Linked DNA regions of Homo sapiens: all the other regions are linked to region 1. The links are contacts of gene promoters, found by promoter capture Hi-C in blood cells and fetal thymus (Javierre and others, 2016). All regions are on one chromosome and are shown on one strand. The core of a region is centred on a gene start or on the middle of the fragment in contact, and the rest is flanking DNA. Distances in the headings are between cores, read along the strand shown.

What was found. The method cuts DNA at HindIII sites, captures the fragments that hold promoters and counts their contacts. A CHiCAGO score of 5 or more calls a contact.
Region 2: a contact is called between a fragment that was not itself captured here and the fragment with the promoter of FKBP3 in region 1, in 1 of 17 cell types (non-activated CD4 T cells). The highest score is 5.3, in non-activated CD4 T cells.
Region 3: the fragment with the promoter of TSHR here is called in contact with the fragment with the promoter of FKBP3 in region 1 in 2 of 17 cell types (total B cells and non-activated CD4 T cells); the score reaches 5.7 in total B cells.

What each region holds. Positions count from the first base shown.
Region 1 is chr14:45,131,691-45,136,631 of GRCh38, forward strand. It overlaps FKBP3 (FKBP prolyl isomerase 3), which reads right to left and starts at 2,791. Exons shown (of 7, transcript NM_002013.4): 1 at 2,659-2,791. The coding sequence starts at 2,766. It overlaps FANCM (FA complementation group M), which reads left to right and starts at 4,240. Exons shown (of 23, transcript NM_020937.4): 1 at 4,240-4,849. The coding sequence starts at 4,342. RefSeq lists enhancers at 1,989-2,860, 2,548-2,767, 2,861-3,731, 4,394-4,443 and a silencer at 2,737-2,914. The HindIII fragment of the contact is 3,907 bases long and covers 1,482-4,941 here.
Region 2 is chr14:81,519,549-81,524,489 of GRCh38, forward strand. The region is part of intron 3 of SEL1L (SEL1L adaptor subunit of SYVN1 ubiquitin ligase); the gene reads right to left. Among named protein-coding and RNA genes, the nearest start is that of SEL1L, 12 kb to the right of the region's middle. The HindIII fragment of the contact is 2,259 bases long and covers 1,510-3,768 here.
Region 3 is chr14:80,953,531-80,958,471 of GRCh38, forward strand. TSHR (thyroid stimulating hormone receptor) reads left to right here and starts at 2,091. Exons shown (of 10, transcript NM_000369.5): 1 at 2,091-2,320. The coding sequence starts at 2,151. It also overlaps a transcript of CEP128 not described here. The HindIII fragment of the contact is 2,816 bases long and covers 894-3,709 here.

The DNA of each region.
Region 1 (4,941 bases), core at 1,541-4,040:
TCTAAAGACTCAGCCTCCATATCTGTAGTGGAAGATTAATAACAGCGTCTACGTCAAAGAGTTGATATAAGGATAAAATGCAAAAATCCATTTAATGCATTTAGCATAGAGCCTGTCACACAGTAAGAACTTAATAAATATTGGGATTATGATTAATACTGTATTTAATAACTCAAGGTAACAGCGGAATTGCTTTTCTTTCAAATATAAGACTGCTAAGATGGCAGATGGACACTAAAATACTACTGCTGAAATAGCAAGTCGTAGTATAACTTTATCTGAAAATCACGTAATTGTGAGGATTTCCATAACTTCTTTGTTTCCTTATTTTATTCTGCTTCTTTTTCTGCCTTGTGGTCCTTGCTTAATTCCTAATTTTGTTACATTCTCAAAGTTGTCCTTTGGCATCTTCTAAGCTTTTGATAAAGCAGTTAACATTATTAGCAGTTAACAGCTAACACTATCACTATTGTATTTTTTTCTTTTGCTTTTTCTTTCAAAGATATGTTCTAAATAACAGCTGATGGGGAAAGGAGACAAAGTTGACTAAACGGAAGTAATCAGTTACCTTTAGCATGCTGGTGGTTTCTTGTTAAAGATTCCAGAAAATACCCAAAGCATAAAAGCATAAACATCTCTTTGATATCTTATGATTAATAAAATAATTATTGTCAAGTATAGGTCTAAGTGTTAATGATCACCGGAGATTATTATTATTAATTTTTGAGACAGAGTCTAGCTCTGTCGCCCAGGCTGGAGTGCAGTGGCCCAATCTCGGCCCACTGCAACCTCCCCCTCTTGGGTTGAAACGATTCTCCTGCCTCAGCCTCCCGAACAGCTGGGATTAGAGGCGCCCACCACCAGGCCCAGCTAATTTTTTTTGTATTTTTAGTAGAAATGAGGTTTCGCTACGTTGGCCAGGCTGGTCCTCAATGCCTGGCCTCAACTGTTAGTCAGGATGGTCTCGATCTCCTGACCTCGTGATCCGCCCGCTTTGGCCTCCGAAAGTGCTAGGATTACAGGAATGAGCCACCACGACCGACCGAGACTATGCATTTAAAAGATTAATGTTATAAAAACATTTTGATAATCCAAGTCTGTTGAAATTCTTCCACGTGGCCCAGTTTTACATACGATTCCACATGGCATGATTTGTTTCATAAGAATATGATGGATGAAGTACATGACTGAGGTATTATTAAATGTTAATGATGTCTATTCTATTGTTTCAGATGAAATACGAATTGGCTTAAGAGAAAATAGTTCCATTAAAATGGGGTAAGATCCCCGACACATGTTCTTTTTCACCCTTGTACCTCCAAACACTGAGAATAGTTCTTGTTACAGATGTTGTATTAATATCTGCTAAATTAATCTAAGATGCGGATGCCAGGATAATAATTAAGGAAGAAGGCACTGGAAGTTGGAGAGTTCTTCTATCTCCCTGTCATGACGCCCGCCCAAAATGAAAATAAAATATAAGCTTCTCAAAATAACCCAGAAATAGTGGCTCACGCCTGTAATCCCAGCACTTTGGGAGGCCGAGGCGGGCGGATCACGAGGTCAGGAGATCGAGACCATCCTGACTAACACGGTGAAATCCCGTCTCTATTAAAAATACAAAAAATTAACCTGGCGTGGTGGCACGCGCCTGTAGTCCTAGCTACTCGAGAGGCAGAGGCAGGAGAATCGTTTGAACCCGGGAGGCGGAGGTTGCAGTGAGCCGAGATCGCGCCACTGCACTCCAGCCTGGGCAACAGAGAGAGACTCCGTCTCAAACAAACAAACAAAAAAACCCAGAAACAGTTTTTCTAAATGAAAAGTTTAGAATTTTAAAAATTGTATAGAAAACACAAGCAGGCTGCCGCTTGTAAGAGAATGCTGCGTGCACAACTATTTCAGCAATTTAACAGGTGCATGAATGAACTTATTTTCCAAAGGAAAAACAAGTGTAACAAAAATAACTTGACTATAGACGGATGGTTAAGATGGAGACTATGCTGACAAATGGAGAGCCTACAGTATAAAGCATTTCAAATAAATTTCTTAGTCTGTTTATAACAATGACAGACCACTGCACAAGAGAAATGTGCATGTAGCTCCCTTAAAGTATAAAGGTGAAAAGGTCATTTAAAGGGTCGATATGTTAAATCAAAACTTAAACCACAACCTACGGATTTTTTAAAAATCACACGCATTAATGTTCAGTATTTAGTAAACTGTTGAGAAAAGCAAGTTGGATACACCGTTCCCACAGAAATCTTCACATCCCTTCCCATTTCCCTAGTAGCCGGCGCCCCGCTCCCAGGAGTCTCATCCACACCACTATTCCTCGGCCTCTCCGCCCTAGCCCCCAATATCCTCGGGTTCCTATTTTTCTGGCCTCCACCCCCACTCAAGGATCCCAATGAGGTTCTAACTCTACAATTGCAGCCTGTGTGCCCCAAGAAATAAAGCTGCTCCCCTGCCCCAGTAGAGAACGCCCGAGAGGCGGGAGCGAGGCACCAAAGCACAAGCTGGGCCTCTCCGGCCTTCCAGGCCACCGGCCGCGGGAAGACGAGGGCGGGGGCACAGAGGAATACGGAATGTATGGGCATCTCCAGGGGGGTGAGGCGTCCCTCAGCCGCACCAGCCCGGCCGCCCCTACGCCTCTGGTACCGAATCTGAACCGTGTTCCTGCAGAAACTTGATAATGTCCTTCTTGGGCAGCTGCTCACTGCGCAGCTGCTCCACGGTCCACGCCCGCTGTGGAACGGCCGCCGCCATCTTCCCCCGCTGCCTCCGCTTTACTGAGCCAGCCCGCCGCAGTTCGGCATCGCCCCGCCCCCTAGGGCGGGGCGGGGCCACTCACGGAGGTCGAGGGGCGGGCCTCTGCTCTAGCAGTCGGGATTGGGGCCTGTCTTTGAGTGACGTCAAGGCTGTGCTATGAGGGCTTCTTTGTTGAGTCCGGGTTGAAAAACCTACCGCGGTCGTCTCTGCAGTCGACTGAGTAGAAGACCGCTAGAGATCTTCGATTCTGAATTAGACACCTTGTGAAGCGACCTCTGATGGTAGCGACATTTATCAACCATTACCCACATTTAAGGCAGCTATGCCTTTAAAGTCCAGTCTATAACCTGTTAAAAGAAAACAGCATTCAGGCTCCTTATCTCGTTTTATCTAGTTCTAGCCTAAAAAGTCACACCTGAAGTGCTTCAGTCCTTGTCGATCCGAAAACCCATATCCCACCATTTCCCTTTTAAAGATCACACAACCGAAACTTAAATACAAACTGCCCATCCCCTTCCCCCCATACAAATACGAGAAAGTTTGTCCAAAACGAAGTTCAGAAACTTTAACAAATAAAACAATTTATAAAGAAGCCGCACTCAGGATGCCACTTGCTGATGAGAATGACATTATTAATGCTCGTAACTCTGTGATGTATATTTTTTTCTCAGTACACGAGGAAACAAATTTACAGAGGTTACTCAAAGTCAGGTTTAGAGAGAAGTCAGGAATTATTTGAGACAGAAATCTTCGTTAGAGTGGAATAATTGCACACCGACGTTTATTATAATGCTCTTACCTATAATAAAGATTTAATAGTTGAACATCAGGACTCCTTACTTAAAAAAATGTAGGCTGACTCTGGGCATGTTGCCTATGAGTTAGCTCTGCTTTGCAAGGAGCATTAAAAAAAAAAATTCTGACGAATAGCTGGACCAGACCACGTTCACTTCCCTTTAAACAATGAAAATATTAAAATAATGGGTTGCCACTCCCAGCGCGGTGAAAAAGAGACTTGGCATTTTGTTTTCTCAGCCCAGATAGAGATATAAGACAAATTATTCCATCTACACATTTTTGCTTTTCACTTTATATTCTGATTTAAAAGTACAAGGAATGAGGCACGTTAGACGCTCAATAACATTAAGTTCCCAAACTGGTGGCTATTCCATTGTCCCCGGGTATGTAATATTTTACAATAAATCTCTATTATAACATTTTAAGTGATTTATCACGTTAGCAATGACGCCCAGCCATCTAATCATTGGAAACGGAACTTAAATTTAGAGTTTGTTAAAACAAAACACCGGAACCGCACCGGGGACCATATTTAGAGTAACGCCTTAATAATGCGCATGAGTCTCCGGCAGGGCTGTGAAGGTTTCCGGGAAGCCAGCCAATCATTCCCAACGGAAACTCAGTAGCGGCATTTTCAACTGGATAAACTGGCCTTAGTCCCGCCTTCTCGTTCCAGAGTTTTGTGCGAAGGAAACCGATGGGGATCGGAACCGTAGCGGTTGAGCTGCTGCTGCTACGGATATCTGACAGAAGCCTTCGGTGGTTGTCGGCCTAATGAGCGGACGGCAAAGAACGCTTTTTCAGACGTGGGGCTCAAGTATCTCCCGATCATCTGGGACTCCGGGTTGCAGCTCCGGAACTGAGCGACCTCAGAGCCCTGGCAGCTCCAAGGCGCCTTTGCCAGCAGCAGCGGAGGCTCAGCTGGAGTCGGACGATGATGTGTTGCTTGTCGCGGCGTACGAGGCTGAGCGGCAGTTGTGTCTAGAGAATGGCGGGTTCTGCACCTCCGCGGGCGCCCTGTGGATTTACCCTACCAATTGCCCAGTGCGGGACTACCAGCTGCACATTTCCCGGGCTGCTCTGTTTTGCAATACGCTGGTGTGTCTGCCTACCGGACTGGGAAAGACCTTTATTGCCGCCGTGGTCATGTACAATTTCTACCGCTGGTTCCCTTCAGGAAAGGTGGTCTTCATGGCCCCAACGAAACCCTTGGTGACACAGCAGATCGAGGCTTGCTACCAGGTGATGGGTATCCCGCAATCCCACATGGCCGAAATGACAGGTATCTTAGACTGGACTAATTTTGAAGTAAGAGCTGGGAATTCCTGACCCATGTGGAATAGTTCCCAAGCTACAACATGTGCATCTTACGCC
Region 2 (4,941 bases), core at 1,389-3,888, about 36 Mb after region 1:
GGCCTTGTAAATAGAAGAAGTTTGGATTTTACTTTGAGTAGGACCGGAAGCCAAAGGAGGTTTCTGAGCAGGAAGTAGTCTCAGTCTGGCTGCTGTTAGGGAACTGATAGTGGGGGAAAGAGCAAAAGGAAGAAGGCCAGATAGGAAGCTCTTACATATAGTAAACACTTTGGTTCAGGAACCACTTCAGAAAGGAGAAAACCTACATTTATTTTTAAGAATGAACAGAAATTTGTGACAGTGGATTTGGGCAAAGGAATGAGGAAGGCATCCTAAACAGTGAGGAGAATCTGTACAAAGGCCCAGGGGCATAAACTGTTATGTTGTGTTTGGAGAACAGAAAAGGGTTTTGTATTGCTGAAAAAGGCTGCTTAGGGAAGGGGTACACTGAAGGCTCTGTGAATCATGCTAAGGACTGCATACTTCATCTCTCAGGCAAACAGGGAAGTAATGGAGGCCTGTAAACAGGGGAGTTATGGGGTCAAATTTGAGTTTGAGAAAGATTAATATGGTAGCAACATGATTGAGAGGCTGACAAAGGGCAAAAGTTTCAAAGTAACTGTCACATAACCCAGTTCTAGTGTAGCTGGAACTGTACACAGAGCCATATATATGCAATTTATGTCATATATATGCATAAGTACTTAAGCATTTTCATATATTAAGAATAAATTAAAAACAAATCTAAATCATTATTGAAAAGTGAAAACTGGTACAAATTAATCTAAATGTTTATAAAGTTGTTGATATAACCAGAGAATTATTAGTGATTTTAAAACACTGTATTATTACAAGTCCCTAGCAAAATATATACCAAGAATAAGAAGGACCATAAAGGAATCTTGGGCTGCATTCTGTGGTCCCACAGTTAGTGGTAAGGGCCACTGTTATTTTGAAACTATATATGCATATTTATTATGATAAAACAAAATAACATTAATGTCATTAGGTACTAAGATTTTCAGCACCAGTGAAAGGAGATAACACAAAAGAAGCAAAAACTCTGATAAGGTGGAAAGGGCTCGCAGCAGACCTGTAGTCTGTTCTTTCTTCTCACTGGCCCAAAACAGAGTGAGCAGATACCTCTCTCCAAGCATCATCAAATCACCTTAGAAATATGGTAAAGAGAGACCTCTGGCAAACACACTGAAGGTATTTACTATTGGAAGAGTCCTTGCTTATGAAATGCTTCAGCAGGATGAACTTGATCTGTCTACATTGCTCATTATACAAAAACCTGGGATGTATGTAGGCATGACTCTCTAGAAAATATCACATACACTATGTAATTATCAAAGAAGAAACCAGTGATGTCTCATGTCGGAAACAGCTTTCTTTCGTGGAATTGACACTCTACAGGCATTACTTAGAGGCCTTGAGTGTTGAACTCTGGGCTGGAGCACAGTCTAATTGAGGAAAGAAACGACCCGAGAGCAGCTCTGGCAGTCACAGACTTCTCTACACCCCGCTCACGTCTTATGATAATTTTATCTTTGAAAATATTTGCCAAGCTTGATACTAGGTTAGGATCTCTGATTCTTGTAAGTTCAATTTGTCAATCTGATTTTTGTTATCTTGCCTGTAATATTTAATTTGAACTAGAAGTTATCGGTATGAAAGATACATTTCCTAACCCAATGCACCAAAAAGGCCTATAAGTAATGAAAATTTAGCAATGCAGATCACTGGTGCTTATATTATCTAACCCACCAAAAGCAATCTGGGTTCCTTGGAGAAATAGCTGACTTTCATTTCTGGGTCAAGAAATGTACAAAATAAGTTTAGGACATCCTTGTTCTGCCTGGAAAAAAAAAGTTACGAAAGATCACCAGGATCTAGTCAAAAAGACAAAGGAATGATTACCAATGGCCAAAAAAGGAAAATTCTGAGCAATCAACAAAAAAGAATGATTGCAATGAACAAAAATATGATCATGTGACACATCATAACTTCTTGGCCAATGACAGACTGTGTATACCATGGTGGTCCCATAAGATTATATCGCTGACAAATTCCTATCACCTAGTGATGTCCTAGTCATTACAACACTGTAGCACAATCCATTACTCATGTTTTTGTAGTGAAACTAGTGTGAATAAACCTACTGCACTTCCAGTTGTATAAAAGTATAGTAATACAATTACGTACGGTACATAACACTTGATAGTGATAACAAACAACTATGTTACTGGTCTACATATTTACTATACTTTTCATCCTTACTTTAGCATGTACTCCTACTTATTAAAAAAAAAAGTTAACTGTAAAACAGCATTAGGTGTGTCCTTCAGGAAGTACAGGCATCGTTATCATAGGAGATGACAGTTCCATGCCTGTTAATGGCCCTGAAGACCTTCCAATGGGACAAGATGTGGAGGTGGAAGACAGTGATATTGATGATCCTGACCCTGTGTAGGCGTAGGCTAATGTGTATGTTTGTCTTAGTTTTTAACAAAAACGTTTAAAAAGTTAAAAAAAAATTTAAAAATAGAAAACAGCTTATAGAATAAGGATAATATATAAAGAAAATATTTTTGTATAGCTCTACAATGTGTTTGTATTTTAAGCTAAGTGTTACTACAAAATAGTTGAAAAGCTAAAACATAAAAGTTTATAAACTAAAAAAGTTACCATAAACGAAGGTTAATTTACTATTGAAAAAAAATTTTGAAAATAAATTTAGTGCAGCCTAAGTGTACTTGTTTATAAAAGTTTACAGTGGTGTACAGCAATGTCCCAGGCCTTCACATTCACTCAGCACTAACCACTCACTCACAGACTCACCCACAGCAACTTCCAGTCCTGCAAGTTCCATTCATGGGAAGTGCCCTAGACAAGCGTACCATTTAAAAATCTTTTATACCATATTTTTATGTGCTTTTTCTATGTTTAGATAGGTTTAGATATACACATAATTACCACTGTGTTACAGCTGAGTACGGTATTCAATACAATAACAAGCTGTAGAAGTTTGTAGCCTAGTAGCAATAGGCTATAACATATAGCCGAGGTATAGGCTACACTAGCTAGGTTCGTGTAAGTACACTCTATATTTGCACAACGATAAAATTAACTAGTGATGCATTTCTCAGAATGCATCCCCATTGTTAAGTGACACATGACTGTCCCTCAGTATCACTGGAGGACTGGGTCCAGGACCTGGCCTGGTGGTACCAAAATCCATGAGTGCTCAAGTTGTTTAGATAAAATGACGTAGTACTTGCATATAACCTACGCAATCCTCCTGTTTTACATCATCCCTAGACTACTTCTAATACCTAATATAATGGAAATGCTATGTAAATAGTTACGCTACATTGTTCAGGGAATAATGACAAGAACAAAAAGTGTGGACATGTTCAGTACAGTTGCAACCACCCATTTTTTCCAAATATTTTCAAATATTTGGTTGAATCCATGGATACAGAGGGCTGACATGTATGTAAGAATCCATGAATTCATAATGATGCTTGTGATATTGTGAAAAAAATATTTGATCTTCATCCGTTTCCAGAAACATAGCTCTTAAAATCCCTGAAATCTCTTGAGTGATAAGAATGTCTTCTGTATGATAATGAGAAAATTGGTGGCTGGAGGTTCCTAGAGAGCCTTGGGATAGGACTTGGTTGCCAGGGAAACCAACCATTAGATTAGATTAGAGGGTTAGAATTTACAGTCCCATCCCCCAACCTCAGAAGGGCAGAGGAGCTAAAAGTTGAGCCAATAAATCAACGCGCAATGATTTAATCAATTATGCCTGCATAACAAAGCTTCCATAAAAACCCAAAATAGCTGAGTTCTGGGAGTTTCTGGAAAGCTGAGCACATGGAGATTCCTGGAAGGTGGGTGGCGTGATCAGATCAGAGTGGGCATGGAAGCTCTGCAGTCCTTCTCCCATACCTTGCCCTACACCTCTCTTCCATCTGGCTTTTCGTCTCTATCCTTTGTAATATCCTTTATAATAAATGTAAATTTATATTTACATTTACCCATTTATCATGCTTCCCAGAGTCCTAAGTGCTAGCAAATTAATTGAACCCAAGAAGGGGGTTGTGGGAACCCTGATTTATAGCCAGTCTGTCAGAAGCACAGACAACCCGGGGCTTATGATTGGCATCTCAAGTAGCGGGGACTGGTCTTGTGAGACTGAGCCCTAAACTTGTGAGATCTAATGCTATCTCCAGGTAGTGTCAGAATTGAATTAAATCAGCAGACATCCTGCTGGTCTCTGATGGAGAATCCTCTGCAGAACTGATTGCTTACTTGGTATGTGGGGAAATACCCACAACATATCTGGTGTCAGAAGTGTTAACTCAGTGAGAAAGAGAAAGAAAAACACACCTTGGTTTGGTTTTTACTATATCCTTACAATGCTCAAATACAAAGCAAAACAAAACAAATACAAACAAACAAAAACATACTCATTAGTCTCTTTCAGAGATTGCTTGGGCACCAAATTTTCATTTCACAACAGTGCAAAGGAAATAAGAATTTATCTAGCTTTCTCTGGATGAGACTATATTTCAGGGTAATCAAAGACTTGATGAGAGAAAATTCTTTATAAAAGAATCCCAGGTAACAAATGCAGGAGGAATGGTAGAATTAGAAAGTCACCATTTTGCAACCCCTAATAATTAAAAGATCCAGGCAACAAACATAAATGGTTGCCAAAACCCCTAGGCAAAAGATTAATGAGGAACTTTAGAATGGTGAGATCAGGGTGATACCACCTGACCTCGCTAATTAATCTTAACATCAGTAAAAGTGGAAAAATCAGACACTACATGTCTCTCAATGTAAAGCAACAGAAAGTACACACCACCACCTACCTATGAAATACTCTCAATAAAAAGACAGAACCAAATCTACCCATGTCTCTAGAACTAACTCCCAGTTTATAGAATAAACAGCAGATAATGGAACAAGCTCAATGACATTACA
Region 3 (4,941 bases), core at 841-3,340, about 36 Mb after region 1:
GCCAAGATCGTGCCATTGCACTCCAGCCTGGGCGACAGGGCGAGACTCCGTCTCAAACAAACAAACAAAAAAAGGATAAATACATCATGATCAAGTGAGATTTATCCCTGCAATTCAAGGTGGGTTTAACATTCGAAAATCGATCACTATGATTCACCACATTAATAAACTACCATGGAACCATCACCACGAACAAGATTTAAAACAGTTTTATTACCCACAAAATTCTCTGGTGTTCATTTGTAGTCAGCCCTACCCTAGGCCTTTGCAACCGCTGATCTTTTTCCTGTCCCTATGGTTTTGCCTTTTTGAGAAAGCTATATAAATGAATCATTAATATGAATAATTACATATAAATACGTAATATTTTGAGTTTGGCTTTTTTCACTTAACATTATGCATTCAAGATTTGTTCCATAACAATACCATGGTAATTTTTAAAAAAACAACAACAAAAGCCCGGGTGCGGTGGCTCAAGCCTGTAATCCCAGCACTTTGGGAGGCCGAGGCGGGCGGATCACGAGGTCAGGAGATCGAGACCAGCCTGACTAACACAGTGAAACCCCGTCTCTACTAAAATTACGAAAAAATTAGCCGGGCGTGGTGGCGGGCGCCTGTAGTCCCAGCTACTCGGGAGGCTGAGGCAGCAGAATTGCTTGAACCTCGGAGGCAAAGGTTGCAGTGAGCCGAGATCGCGCCATTGCACTCCAGCCTGGGCGACGGAGCAAGACTCCGTTTCAAAAGAAAAAAAAAAAGAAAAGAAAATTTGTGCATGTTGTATCAGCAGTTCATTCATTTTTATTGCAGAATAGTATTCCAATGTGGAGGTATCAGAGTTTGTTTATCCATTATCTAGTCGCGAGACACTTGGTTCGTTTAGTGGTTATGAATAAAGCTTCTGTAAAATTTGGAATACACATATTTTAAATGTACGGTTTAATGAATTTTGATAAATGTATACATCCACTTAACCTCCAGCCTAATTACGATATGGAAACCCTGTGTGTTCCCTCCTGTCTTTTTCTAGTCAATCTTTCCTAACCTTTATTCTGATTCCCATAACCACAACTTTTTCCTTCCTGTCCTAGCCAAGTTCATATAAAAGGAATTATGCAGTATAGAAGGAATTGACATTCCTTTTATCCCAAGAGGAATAAGTGATTGAAGACTTTTAAGAAGGAAATAGGCACAATCTGATTTATGTTTGTAATGATCTTTTTGGCTACTGTGCGAAGAATGGTGAGTATGCCACTTAAGTATTATTTTTCTTCCCATCTTCCAGGGGGAATATGACTCAATGAAATTCTTGGGTCGACCAGAATTTCCATACTGGACCCATTATTAAGGGAACCTGGAATTATTTCTGCCATTCCCGATTCTTCCCAGCAGATGGCCCCAAAGTTCAGTTCCTGAATTGCCTCGCGGAGCCGCGGGCTGCAACGTGAGGCGGCCGCTGCCAGTCGACTCAACCACCGGAGTGGCCCCTGCAGTTGGATAGCAACGAGAATCCTCCAGGGGTGCAGGGCGACGGCTTCGGCCGCACCGCGGGCTAGCCAGGGCTGCGTGCCCGCCTCTGACCCTCAGCAGAGGTGTCTCTGGCCAGGAGGAGCTGAAGTTCTGCAGGACATTGGTCCGCCCGCGGACAGTCCACTCCGCGGGGACTTTCTCTGGATAAGGAGTGCGTGCGAGTGGCTCCCAGGCAGACAGGGTGTCTAGAAGGCTACACGCTAGGGAAGGTGGCTCCTTGGATTTAAAGAGGAGGAAAGGAGGGGGCATCTAAACTAGGCTTTGGAGAGAACTAATGGGAGGGGCGCCCGGGGTGGGGGGGCGGGCTGGAAAACAGAGGGGACAGCCAGGACTGGTGTTGGGTGTCAGGGAACAGACGGAGCGGACTGCGTGGGTCCAGCCAAGGAAAGTGAAGCAAGCAGACTTGTTTGGGTCAAGGTTGCCTAGGGAAGCGGAGCACTTAAGTGCCTCTTTTTCCCCTTCTCCAGCCTCCTCCACAGTGGTGAGGTCACAGCCCCTTGGAGCCCTCCCTCTTCCCACCCCTCCCGCTCCCGGGTCTCCTTTGGCCTGGGGTAACCCGAGGTGCAGAGCTGAGAATGAGGCGATTTCGGAGGATGGAGAAATAGCCCCGAGTCCCGTGGAAAATGAGGCCGGCGGACTTGCTGCAGCTGGTGCTGCTGCTCGACCTGCCCAGGGACCTGGGCGGAATGGGGTGTTCGTCTCCACCCTGCGAGTGCCATCAGGAGGAGGACTTCAGAGTCACCTGCAAGGATATTCAACGCATCCCCAGCTTACCGCCCAGTACGCAGACTCTGTGAGTACCCGGGAGAGATCAGGGTAGGACCCAGAGATCAAGGGCATCTGCAGAGGTGGCCCGAAGTGCACAAAAGCAGCTCAATAACAGCCCGAAGTAGTGTGTGAGTGTGTGTATGTGTGAGTGAATGTCTGTGTGTGTAGATGTGTGTGTGTGCTAAAAACTTAATCGCCCACACTTGGGAAGGTATCATTGTTGACATCCTCATTCCCAACACAGGAAAATGTTACAAAACTTTGGTGTACAATGACCGTGAGAGCTGTTCTTTCCAACAAGCTGCTATTCAGCACTTTGCCTAACCCTGGTTGAATCTGTTTTATTTGAATTAATAAGGATAATGGCATCTCAGGAACTGACCTTTTTGATCTTACCTTGGGTAATAAAAAATTGCAAAAATATGTATTTCTCCTTTTTGTTTCTCTAGATGGGAGGTTATCTTAGCAGTTCTGCTGATTCATCAAATTGTTGACAAAGGTTTAAGCAGGGGCCCTTTTTAAAATGAACTGTCTATACAGTATCTGTAAGTTACTTACTCAAATGTGAACTGCCAGTGAAATAGTACGTCCAGAACCCTGCTTTGTGATAGAGGTATAAAGAAATGAAATTTCATAAAAGTATAGTACATTTATCTGCATGTTAAATGTTACCAGATTAGAAACCTGATGTTAAATAAGATTATACACACACAACCTGTTTCTTAACAGCAATTTAAATCAGTGATCATTGAAATTGTAGACAAAACCAAGGGAATAAAGTCTGTCTTGATTAGTTAAAAAGAGAACAGAAAGAAAGGACAGTAAAACAACCTAGGCTGGTTAAATCCAGTTAAGATAAAAAAAAATGCAGGTTATTAAAGAAAATGTTGATAGATGAAAAGAAATGGGAAAGTTGCACCTCTAGATTTTCTCAAGAATTTAGCTCATGAAGACTATTTAACAGTAGATGAATATTTGAGCACAGAGATATATTTCTGTGCTCAGAGATATCCTAGTGTCTTAGCACACCTGAATTAATTAGTTCAATAACCTCCAAACAGTGTGGTAGTCATTCTCCATGCTGCCACCACAGAATAAGATGTGTAAAAGGTGTAATGGCCTCTTGATTACACCTCTACATAGGTTGCTTGTCACCTCTAGAATAAAATTCTTTTGTGCAGCCTACCAGATCTTTCAAGACCTAGTCAAGTCTTTCCAACCTCATTGCTCCTCATTTCTCTAACTTCCCCCTCCTGCTGAGAACTTCTGGCACTTCCCCAAAGGTCCCTGCTGTTACAGCTGCCCTTGCCTTTCTTCCCACTTTCTGGCCCCTCTGCCTGAAGCACATTTCACCCATTTCTTCACCCAGCTAATGCCTACTCCCAGATCCAGATCCTGGATCAACCCTGCAGGAAGCTTCTCCTGACCCATGACCTTCAGGCTGGGTAAGCTATACCCCCCTTCCCAACAGCGTTCTCTGCATGAACCTAACCCTAGCCCTTAGACATTGTCTACTTTCTTGTAACTTGTTATTTATTTGCATGCCCACTCAAGCAGGACACAAGCTTCTCTAACATAGGGAACTGCCATTCAACCCCGAATTCCTGAAACCCTGGAACTACTTAGACACTCAGAAAAAACAAAAAAAAAAAAACTTAAGTGAATAAATAAACAAATGAATATGCCAGGTCTCTGAATGTCCACTCTATGTTGGGGAGAAAGAAATCCAAAGACATCACTTCTTCAGAGACTTCTTTAACAGTGGCAGAAATTCAAGTCATTGAAGAGAGATGTGGCTCTGACAGTGAAAAGGAACTCGTAGACATCCTGTTTAAAATTCCACCAAAAGTTGAGAAAGAAAGGGTAATGGAGAATGAGCAATGGAACAGGAGTCAGGAAACCAGCATTCTCTTTAGCCCTTCTTTACTAACCATGAAATTGTGTAAGATGACTGATTTGGAAGGAGCCAAATTTCCTTCTGGGTAAAAGAGAATGTTCAACTAGGTGCTTTCTAGGTGATGACATGATGCTGATGAGAATAGTCTGAGGGAAGGCACTGAATCACAAGAAAAAGACATAAAGACAGTGGCAAGGAGGATCTGCCCTTGAGAATAATGGAGAGGGAGGTAGTATGTCCTGAAGAATAAAGTTATTCTGAGATCGAAAAGAGAAACCTGATAAAAAGTGTGGGTAAAACAAAATGGTAGTCTCCTTTGAACAATGGCTACTACCATCTGCAACAGTAGAAAAATGATTTTTAAATCTTTTGGGGGCGGTAGAACTCTTTGTTGAAGAAAAGCATATGAGAGAAGTAAAACATGTAAAGCTAACAATTATATTGTGTTTACTTACGGGGGCGGGGGGTCCTGTTCTCAGCGCTTTGCATGAACTCACCCAGTGAATCCTCACCAAATCCAATTAAGTAGGTGATGTTATTATGCTCATTTTATAGATGAGGACCTTGAGGCACAAAAATAAAATGAAGTAATTTGCTCAATGTTGCACAGCTTGTAAGTGGTAAAGTCAGGATTTGAATATCATATCATCAACTATGGAGCCTGCACCCTTAAGCCACCACTCTCAGATGAGAAGTGTGTCTCACCACACCAGTGTTCCCCTGATGGTCATAGGCTTTGGAGAAAAAAG